Linked DNA regions of Homo sapiens: region 2 is linked to region 1. The links are contacts of gene promoters, found by promoter capture Hi-C in human tissues and cell types (Jung and others, 2019). All regions are on one chromosome and are shown on one strand. Each heading gives the region's core, a stretch centred on a gene start or on the middle of the fragment in contact. The rest is flanking DNA. Distances are from core to core; before and after follow the strand shown.

What was found. Contacts are between HindIII fragments. The study calls those that stand out against the background at their distance.
Region 2: a fragment that was not itself captured here is called in contact with the fragment with the promoter of CCT4 in region 1 in 4 of the 25 tissues and cell types used here (bladder, dorsolateral prefrontal cortex, hippocampus and 1 more).

The regions. Positions count from the first base shown.
Region 1 is chr2:61,886,148-61,890,616 of GRCh38, forward strand. CCT4 (chaperonin containing TCP1 subunit 4) reads right to left here and starts at 2,509. Exons shown (of 14, transcript NM_006430.4): 1 at 2,234-2,509. The coding sequence starts at 2,360. It also overlaps a transcript of COMMD1 not described here. RefSeq lists enhancers at 1,537-2,098, 2,099-2,658, 2,200-2,279, 3,219-3,778. The HindIII fragment of the contact is 14,932 bases long and covers 1-4,469 here.
Region 2 is chr2:61,333,138-61,337,606 of GRCh38, forward strand. USP34 (ubiquitin specific peptidase 34) reads right to left here. Exons shown (of 80, transcript NM_014709.4): 19 at 745-834. Among named protein-coding and RNA genes, the nearest start is that of SNORA70B, 82 kb to the right of the region's middle. The HindIII fragment of the contact is 6,875 bases long and covers 1-4,469 here.

The DNA.
Region 1 (4,469 bases), core at 1,259-3,758:
CACTTGTAATACCAGCACTTTGAGAGGCTGAGGCGGGCAGACCACCTAAGGTCAGGAGTTCGAGACCAGCCTGGACAACATGGCGAAACCCTGCCTCTACTAATACAAAAATGAGCCGGGTGTGGCGGTGCGCATCTGTAGTCCCAGCTAGCTACTCGGGAGGCTGAGGCAGGAGAACCGCTTGAACCCAGGAGGCAGAAGTTGCAATGAGCAGAGATCACACCACTGCACTCCAGCCTGGGGGACAGAGCAAGACAGACTCCATCTCAACAAACAAACCAAACCTAACAAACCAAACAAAAACCAAAACTCTCAAATCATAGCTTTTGGTCATCATCAGTATGTTATAAAACATCTCTGGGGCCGGGTGCGGTGGCTCACGCCTGTAATCCCAGCGCTTTGCGAAGCCAAGGCAGGCCGTCACTTGAGGCCAGGAGTTTAAGACATAACGGGTCATCTTCACAGATAACTTAGGTGGCCTTTCCTTCCCACATGCACACCCTCCTCTGTTGTTTCAGTTCTTTGTCTGCTTTTGTTTCAAAGGTTGCTAAATTTCCCACTTATTTTGTTTGTTGAATATCAACCATATTATAAACTCTCTTGGCCCCCAAATTTATCTTTTTTTTTTTTTGAGACGGAGTTTCGCTCGTCACCCTGGCTGGAGTGCAATGGCGCGACGTCAGTTCACGGCAACCTCCGCCTCCCAGGTTCAAGCTATTCCCCTGCCTCAGCCTCCCGAGTAGCTGGGACTACAGGCCTACGCCAACACACCCACCTAATTTTGTATTTTTAGTAGAGACGGGGTTTCTCCATGTTGGTCAGGCTGGTCTTGAACTCCTGACCTCATGTGATCCGCCAGCCTCAGCCTCCCAAATTGCTGGGATTACAGACGTGAGCCACCCTGCCCGACCCAAAATTTATCTTTCAACATTCTGTTCCTAATCTAATAAATGTAAGCTTCAACTATGGTCCCTAGACAATTATCCTACAAACCTTCGTTTCCAGGTGTATTATCTCCTAAACTTACAAATGACTCCTAAATCTGGCCATTCTGACCTTTCCAACTCATTAGGACAAGTTAGAAACTATTACTTTTTCTTACATCCAGCGTTACCTATCTTAGCGCCATCACATTCCCAGTTACTTGGGCTGATGACTGCAAACACATGTAAGGTGTACTTTATATACGTGGGTCTTTATATGCTTTCTCACTGAATCCTCACAGCAAGCCTACACGATGGCTAAAAAGAAATGATCCCATAGCTGGGGGAGATTAAGCCAAATACTTTCCAGGACACCAGGCCTTTAACATCTGCCCCAACCTAGCTTTCTAATCTCACCTCTTCTGTAAACATACTACTATTCTCCAACCCAAAAGAACTACTATACTCAATATACACTCGGGCAAGATCTCTAAACCTCTGTCCTGACTTTTCCTTCCAGATTTTTCTATTTCAACTCGATTTCTCTTAATCTTAACTCTAAAAAGCAAACATTTTCCTCCAATTTTATAAGTGAATCTTTGGCACAGAGGTTACAGGTCACTAAGACATGAAGTAACGGAAGCAGAGAATGAAACTCTGGTCTTCCTGATTTCCAACGTGTGCCACACACTTCCACAAAAAAAACAAATAATTGTTTCTTGATTTGCCTATGTTTCACTGCACATGCGGAGACGACATCAACGTAACTTTTCCGCAACTATTTCAAACACGACACGTAAGTCGGTTCCCACATCCATCCCAGTACAATGGGCCCCGCCCCAATTTAGACTCGGAGAGTTCACCCAATTCGTCTCAACAGTTGTGCCAAGTGAAGTTTATTTAATAGTTCTTTAAATAAGAATAACAAAGCTGAAAGATACTGTGCATTCTACCAGTTCCAATAAGCAATAAGCGACAGCCCTCAAGCGTCAGATCCCTAGTGAAGACTGCATGCAATCCTCGGCATTTTGAACTGCTTTCGGCTCCAATATGAATGATGCACAGTGCAGGATGAAAAACTAAGGGAGATTAAGATGCAAAATGGGGCAAGTCCAAAGGCCTCCATACTCCGGGTTGGCGATCATCGGCAGAAAAACAGAAATAAGGATCCCTCCACTGGGCTGCTTCTATAGGGAGGACAAGAGAGGATCACCCGAAGAAATGGGAAATGAGCCAAACCCGCTCAAGCCCACGATGAGAGCGCAGAGCACAACCCCGCGGCGCCGCGGGTCAGGCCATGAGAGTGATACCTTTGGCGGCGGAAATGTTGCTGAAGCGGATCTGGGCTGGCTTGTCGCGGTCCTGATAGGCGCCTTTCCCGCGGCCGCCGGCAGCCCCGGCAGTCGCCCCGCTCCGGGGTGCCACATTCTCGGGCATGGCAAACTCCGCTGTGTCTGGGTTGGCTCGGGAAGGACGGATGGACCCGGATTCTGGCCGGCCGCAGTGTAATAACGGTAAGCCCTCACTGCCTTCACGAACCTTCCAGAAAGCGGCGCCGGCGTCGGGAGGAGGCGGAGGCGGAGAAGGGGGCCTTCCTTGCCGCGCGGCGCTGGCGTGACGTAGGAGGCTGTCCGCTGCGCGCCGGGCGAGGAGGATGCGTGCGGTGGGCTCCGGGCTGGCGAGATTGTACGCCCGGGGCGCTGTGGGTGAAGAGCGCCGGGGGAACCTTTACGCGAGGCAGCAATGACAACGCGCGATTTTAAAGGCGAGTGGTGAGGACATCCGCATTTCCTCACTCCACCTTGCACGGCTATGAGGTCCCCTCCTTTTTTTTTTTTTTTTTTTCTTTTTTTGGATACAGTCTCACTCTGTTGCCCAGGCTGGAGTGCAGTGGCGCAAAATCTCGGCTCACTGCAGCCTCCGCCTCCCAGGTTCAAGCGATCCTCCTCAGCCTCCCGAGTAGCTGGGATTACAGGCGTCCGCCACCATGCCCAGCTAATTTTTGTATTTTTAGTAGAGACAGGGTTTCACCATGTTGGCCAGGCCGGTCTCGAACTCCCGACCTCAGGTGATCCACCCGCCTCGGGCTCCCAAAGTGTTGGGATTACAGGCGTCAGCCACGAAGCCCGGCCTTTTTTTTTTTTTTTTTTTTTTTTGACAGAGTCTCGCTCTGTCGTCCAGGCGGGAGTGCAGTGGGGCGATCTTGGCTCACTGCAGCCTCGACCTCCGGGGCCCAAGCGATCCTCCCGCCACAGCCTCCCAACTAGCCAGGACGACAGGTGCCCGCCACCATGCCTAGCGAATTTTTGTATTCGAAACATAGCGAGACTGGGTTTCGCTGTGTTGCCCAGGCTGGTCTGACCTCCCCGGCTCAAAGCGGTCCACCCTCCTCAGCGTTTCAAAGTACTGGGATTACAGGCGTGAGCCACCGCGCCCACCCGGAGGTGCCCTCCTTTAACTCCGGCTGGATCTATCCGCGAGGTGGGGTGGGCGCCGGAATAACTCTCTAAGGGATATGACTGAGTCTGTTTTTGCCCGGCCACATAGACCTGCATTTTATGCAGTTTTGTTCATTTTGAAAGGGAGTCAGAAAAGGGAGATTTGGAATGAGGCGAGGTTAGTTATCTCGTATTGGTTGATACTGGGTGGTGGAGGTTTGACAGACTGCCAAATCAGGTCTGTCTAGTTACCACCGCCCGCTTGTTCTACACTAGTGTCTCCTGCATGACGTAGCCACTGACTCTTAGGGAACGTAAACATTATAATAAAGATCATTTATTTCCGTTATCTGCTAAGCACAGTGCTAAACCTTTACACGTTTTATATCTCGTTTAGTCCTCACAATAATCCTTTACTTAAAAGGTGAGAGAACTGGAGCCCAAAGAAGGAACTGAAGCCCAGGGTAAACGAGTCAGTAGATAGAAGCAGTATTCCAATACAAAGCAAGGACCAGAAGCCATGAGCTAAACTGCTGGTCTCCTATGACCACTATATTTCAGTAGGGAAGTTTATGAAATGAGGTTTGTTGAATGTTCGCTCACAATTATTAAGCACCTGCAAAGTGACAGTTGCGTGTGGTAGGTTCAGAAACAAATGTTCAAAGGTACTTAATCTTGTAATTATGAGGTGGTGGTGGTGTTGTTTGTTTGTTTGTTTTTGTTTGTTTTTGAGACGGAGTTTCACTCTTGTTGCCCAGGCTGGAGCAGTGGCACCATCTCGGCTCACCGCAACCTCCGCCTCCCGGGTTCAAGCGATTCTCCTGCCTCAGCCTCCCCAGTAGCTGGGATTACGGGCATGCACCACCATGCCCGGCTAATTTTGTATTTTTAGTAGAGACGGGGTTTCTCCATGTTGGACAGGGTGGTTTCGAACTCCCGAGCTCAGGTGATAGGCCCGCCTCGGCTTCCCAAAGTGCTAGGATTGCAGGCTTGGCGAGAGCCACCTCGCCAAGTTGTTCTTTAACACACATTTAGCATATTAGCACTAGGGGCCTGGCTCAGTAGCTCACGCCTGTAATCCCAGCACTTTGGGAGGCCGAGGTGGGTG
Region 2 (4,469 bases), core at 932-3,431, 550 kb before region 1:
GACAACTTTCTCTAGACTTATTACCAAAACATGGGGTCGATTTCACATAAAAGTTCTACCTCTGGAAGAATTATTGTAACATTCATTAATCATAAGTTCTCCATAAATGGAGTAACTAGTTGAATATCCCTTATCCAAAATGCTGGAGACCAGAAGTGTTTCAAATTTTTTCAGATTCCGTAATATTCGCAGAATGCATAGCAGTTGAACATAACTAATCCAAAAATCCAAATTCCAAAATGCTCCAATGAATATTTCCTTTGAGTGTCCTACTGATGCTCCAAAAATGTTGGATTATGGAGCATTTCAGATTTTAGATTTTTCAGATTAGGCATACTCAACCTGTAATAAGGTAGTGTCAAGATTACCCCAAACATGACATTAGGTCTACAGCCAATTCCTAGAAATGGGAAAAATTAAAGGCATGCCAGAGTTTACTTTAGTGTGGCTCTTCTTCAAAAGTACTCTGCTGTAGCTGCATACGCTAAAAATCTCCCTAAAATTAGAGTATTAATTGCTAAAGTACTGTTCTCAAACTCCAAAGAAAACAAAACACAGATTTTCCTACTGATCAGGATATAATCTCTACAGGGGTAAGTGGCAGAAAAATCTAAGAAAACAAACCACATGAAACTCAAATTTTCCTGGTACAGAGTAAAAGCTTGTAGGTTAGTCAAAACCTTTAGATAACTATAATTAGAAAAAAATCTTTAAAATAAATACTTTTTTCTTTTATTTACTTACATTGTTATCCAGTGTGTATCGTAACTGCTCCCAAACTGCTGAAAAGTACCAAATAGTTTTGGAAGAAGACGAAGTGAAATTACTACTGATCTGAAACAGCAGAAACATTCACAAAATAATTTTAGTAATTCTTTTTATAGAAATTCAGCCATTTAAAATTTTAAATGCTAAAAGATTTAATGAATCTTGCATAGAGACATATTATTACACAAACATTAAACTTTTTTTCTCAGAAGTATAAATTCATTTTACATATTAGGGCAAGAACTGCAAGTTTAAAAAATTCCAATCCAAGATCTTTAAGGTAAAACACACTATAAATATCTGGGTAAAAAAGCAAGTGAAGAGCATTTAAAGATGTTTCTTAAATGAAACTATTTCTTCATAAGTCATTACCATTTTCTCCTAAATTCTCAATATGATTTGCATTCAAATTGAGAATCATGACCTTATGAACCACGTCACTAATGGAAGCACACCACATACCTCAAAAGTATAAGGAGCAGAAAGGGGAAAGGAAATTACTTTAAAACTTCAAGTAGATCTGAGTCTGCCTATCCTCTGAAAGGAACAGGTACAGGACAGATACTGACATAGAAATCCTGGAAGTAGGAAAGGAGGTTGGCTGCATGAGCCTTAAAAGAGGCAAAACAAATTCTAATGAAGAACTAAACTTATTTTAATCTTAGAAGCCAATACTGCTTCATGAAAAAATTTTTCACAAATTTAGGAAGTAAATTTTATTCACTTCCTGAATTTTCTTCAATAAACATGTTTTCATTTATAAAATGCAATGTGGAAGCAAGTATATGTTTGACGTTAGAGAAATAAGACGCCAGGCATTAAGTGGTTATTGACTGAGTTCAGTGAATAATGGTGTGGTTCATGAAAGACACAAACCAAAAGTAGGAATGTAGAAATAAGACTCATCTTCCTTCTACTCCTACCCTAAAGGAATGCTTTTCTCCAGAATTTATAAGTGCTGAATTATTGAGGAATAATTACATTATACATGGCTAAAGATTTTTAAGAGTTTTTCCTAAGATTATCTAAAAACTTCCAACTTTTCTCCCATTTAAAAGAATCAAATTCCAAAGAACAAAGACACACATTTTAAGTGCTATAATGACCAGACAGAGTCAAAGTCATCCCAAAGCACTAAAACATTTTATTAAAACTGATAAAATTTGTTTTTAAATGACAGAAAGTACTGCTTTTAGACTATAAATTAATAAAACACAGAATGGGAAAGATAATTTTGGCCTGGTGATAATAATTTATGTTTCAATGAAAAAGGAAACTTTACAAAATCAAATATAAAACTCGTTCCAATAAAGATTAAATTGTAGAATTTCTCCTATAATGACTATGAGATGTTATAATGACTTATCAACTTTTTTGCCCAAGTAGTTCTGACTACTGATATGCTTACAAAACTAACAAAAGCATAAAAGGGAAGTGTTATAGTCAAACTTACATTTCACAAATTCTTTCAAGACTGAAAATTTCAAATACCAAAACACATAATCCTAGGCAACAATGTGGTTAAGATAAAAAGATTCAATGGGCAACCACAAAGGCTCAATGGCCAACGCATAATGGTTCATGCCTGTAATCCCAACACTTTGGGAAGTCAAGGTGAGCAGACTGAGCCCAGGAGTTTGAGACCAGCCAGGGAAACACAGTGAGACCCGGTCTCCACAAAAAAATACAAAAAATTAGCCACCCATGATGGCACATGCCTGTAGTCCCACCTCCTCAGCAGGCTGAGGTGGGAGACTCGCTTGAGCCTGGGAGGCGGAGGTTACAGTGAGCTGAGATTGCACCACTGCACTTGGGCCTGGGTGACACAGTGAGACTGTCTCAAAGAGAAGATAAAGGTTCAATGATCCAGAGTAATAATACACTAATTTTAGACTCAAGAATAATCCTATTATACTGAATTGCACTAGTTGTTTGATTTATTCCAAGAGTTTGTGTTGTAACCAAAAGCTTATGACTATGCAACAGTGTGGTAGTCCTGTAAGAATTACTAAGGCAGCTTTTTGTTATCTTAGAACAGAGACATTCACTGTTGGTCTTCACAGCTGAAGTTACATATGGATGATTTTGCCTAATCTAGGACTCCATATTTTAAAGAAGTATATTCTACAAAATAGTCATTTAAAATTACAGCGTATATCAAAAGTTAACGTGAAATGCCATATATAATATAGTCTCTAGGGAAGCAAAACAAATTGTGTGTGTGTGTGTGTGTCCGCACAATTTTTTTTTTTTTTTTGAGACAAAGTCTCACTGTGTTGCTCAGGCTGGAGTGCAGTGGTGCGATCTTGGCTCACTGCAGCCTTGACTTCCCACCTCAGCCTCCCAAGTAGCTGTAACTACAGGTACGGGCCACCATGCCCAGCTAATTTTAAAGTTTTTCTGTAGAGATGGGGTCTTCCTATGTTTCCAAGGCTGGTCTCAAACTACTGGGCTCAATAGATGCCCCATCTCACCCTCTCAAAGTGTTGGACTTACACGCGTGAGACACTGTACCTGGTCCCTTTTGGATCTTTTTAATTTTCCTACCTATAAAAGAAGTATGTACTCATTTTAGGAAAACTGAGTAACAAATAGGCACAAAGAGAAAAAAAAAAAACCTCAAGCTGGGTGCAGTGGCTCACGCCTATAATCCCAGCACTTTGAGAGGTCAGGGCAAGCAGATCACTTGAGGTCGGGAGTTCGAGACCAGCCTGGCCAACGTGGCAAAACCCCATCTCACCTAAAAATACAAAAGTTAGCTGGGCGTGGTGGTGCACACCTACATTCCCAGCTACTTGGGAGGTTGAGGCAGGAGAATCACTTGAACCCGGGAGGCAGAGGCTGTCGTCAGCCAAGATCATGTCACTGCACTCCAGCCTGAGAAACTGACTGAGACTCCATCTCAAAAAAAAAAAAAAAAAAAAAAAGCAAAACAAAAAACCTCAATCCTCCCAAAAATAACTGCATTGTAGAGATTACACTCTGACTTATTTCTTACAATCTTTTCTTTTTAACGGTTAGGCCTGCAATTATTTGCCTAAATCATTATATAATCTTTGAAAATAGGACCCTTAATGGCTGCATGATATTTAATCTTTCATACAGTTTTCTCTTTCTATTGAAGTATAATAAACATACATACAAAAGAGGGCACAGATCTAAGCGCACAGCTCAAAATACTGAGGTAAACACATCTATGTAACCAGCAACCAAATCAAGAAACGAATCAGTATCAGCATTCCAGGAGCCTCTACTGTGTCCCATTCCAACCACTCAGGGTAGCTATTACCCAGTCTACTAAATACAAGAACTCACCTGTTTTTACATGATATAAATAAAATAATAGAGATACATAATGTTTTTGTGTCTGGCTTCTTTCTTGCAACATTGTGTTTGTGAAATTCAACCAAGTTGTTCCATGTAGTTGTTCACTGTTCATTCAATGTTACTGCTATATAGTATTTCAATGAATAGTCCACAATTATCCTTTCTACTTTTTTTTTTTGCATTTGAATAGCTATGCAAAGAATACGTAGTTATGTTATGTTATTTATTTATTTATTTAGAGACAAGGTCTCACTCTGTTGCTCAGGGCTGGAGTGCAGTGACGTGATCACGACTCACTGCAGCCTGAACCTCCCCAGGCACAAGCAATCCTCCTACCTCAGCCTCCCAAGTAGCTGGGACTACAGGCACACACC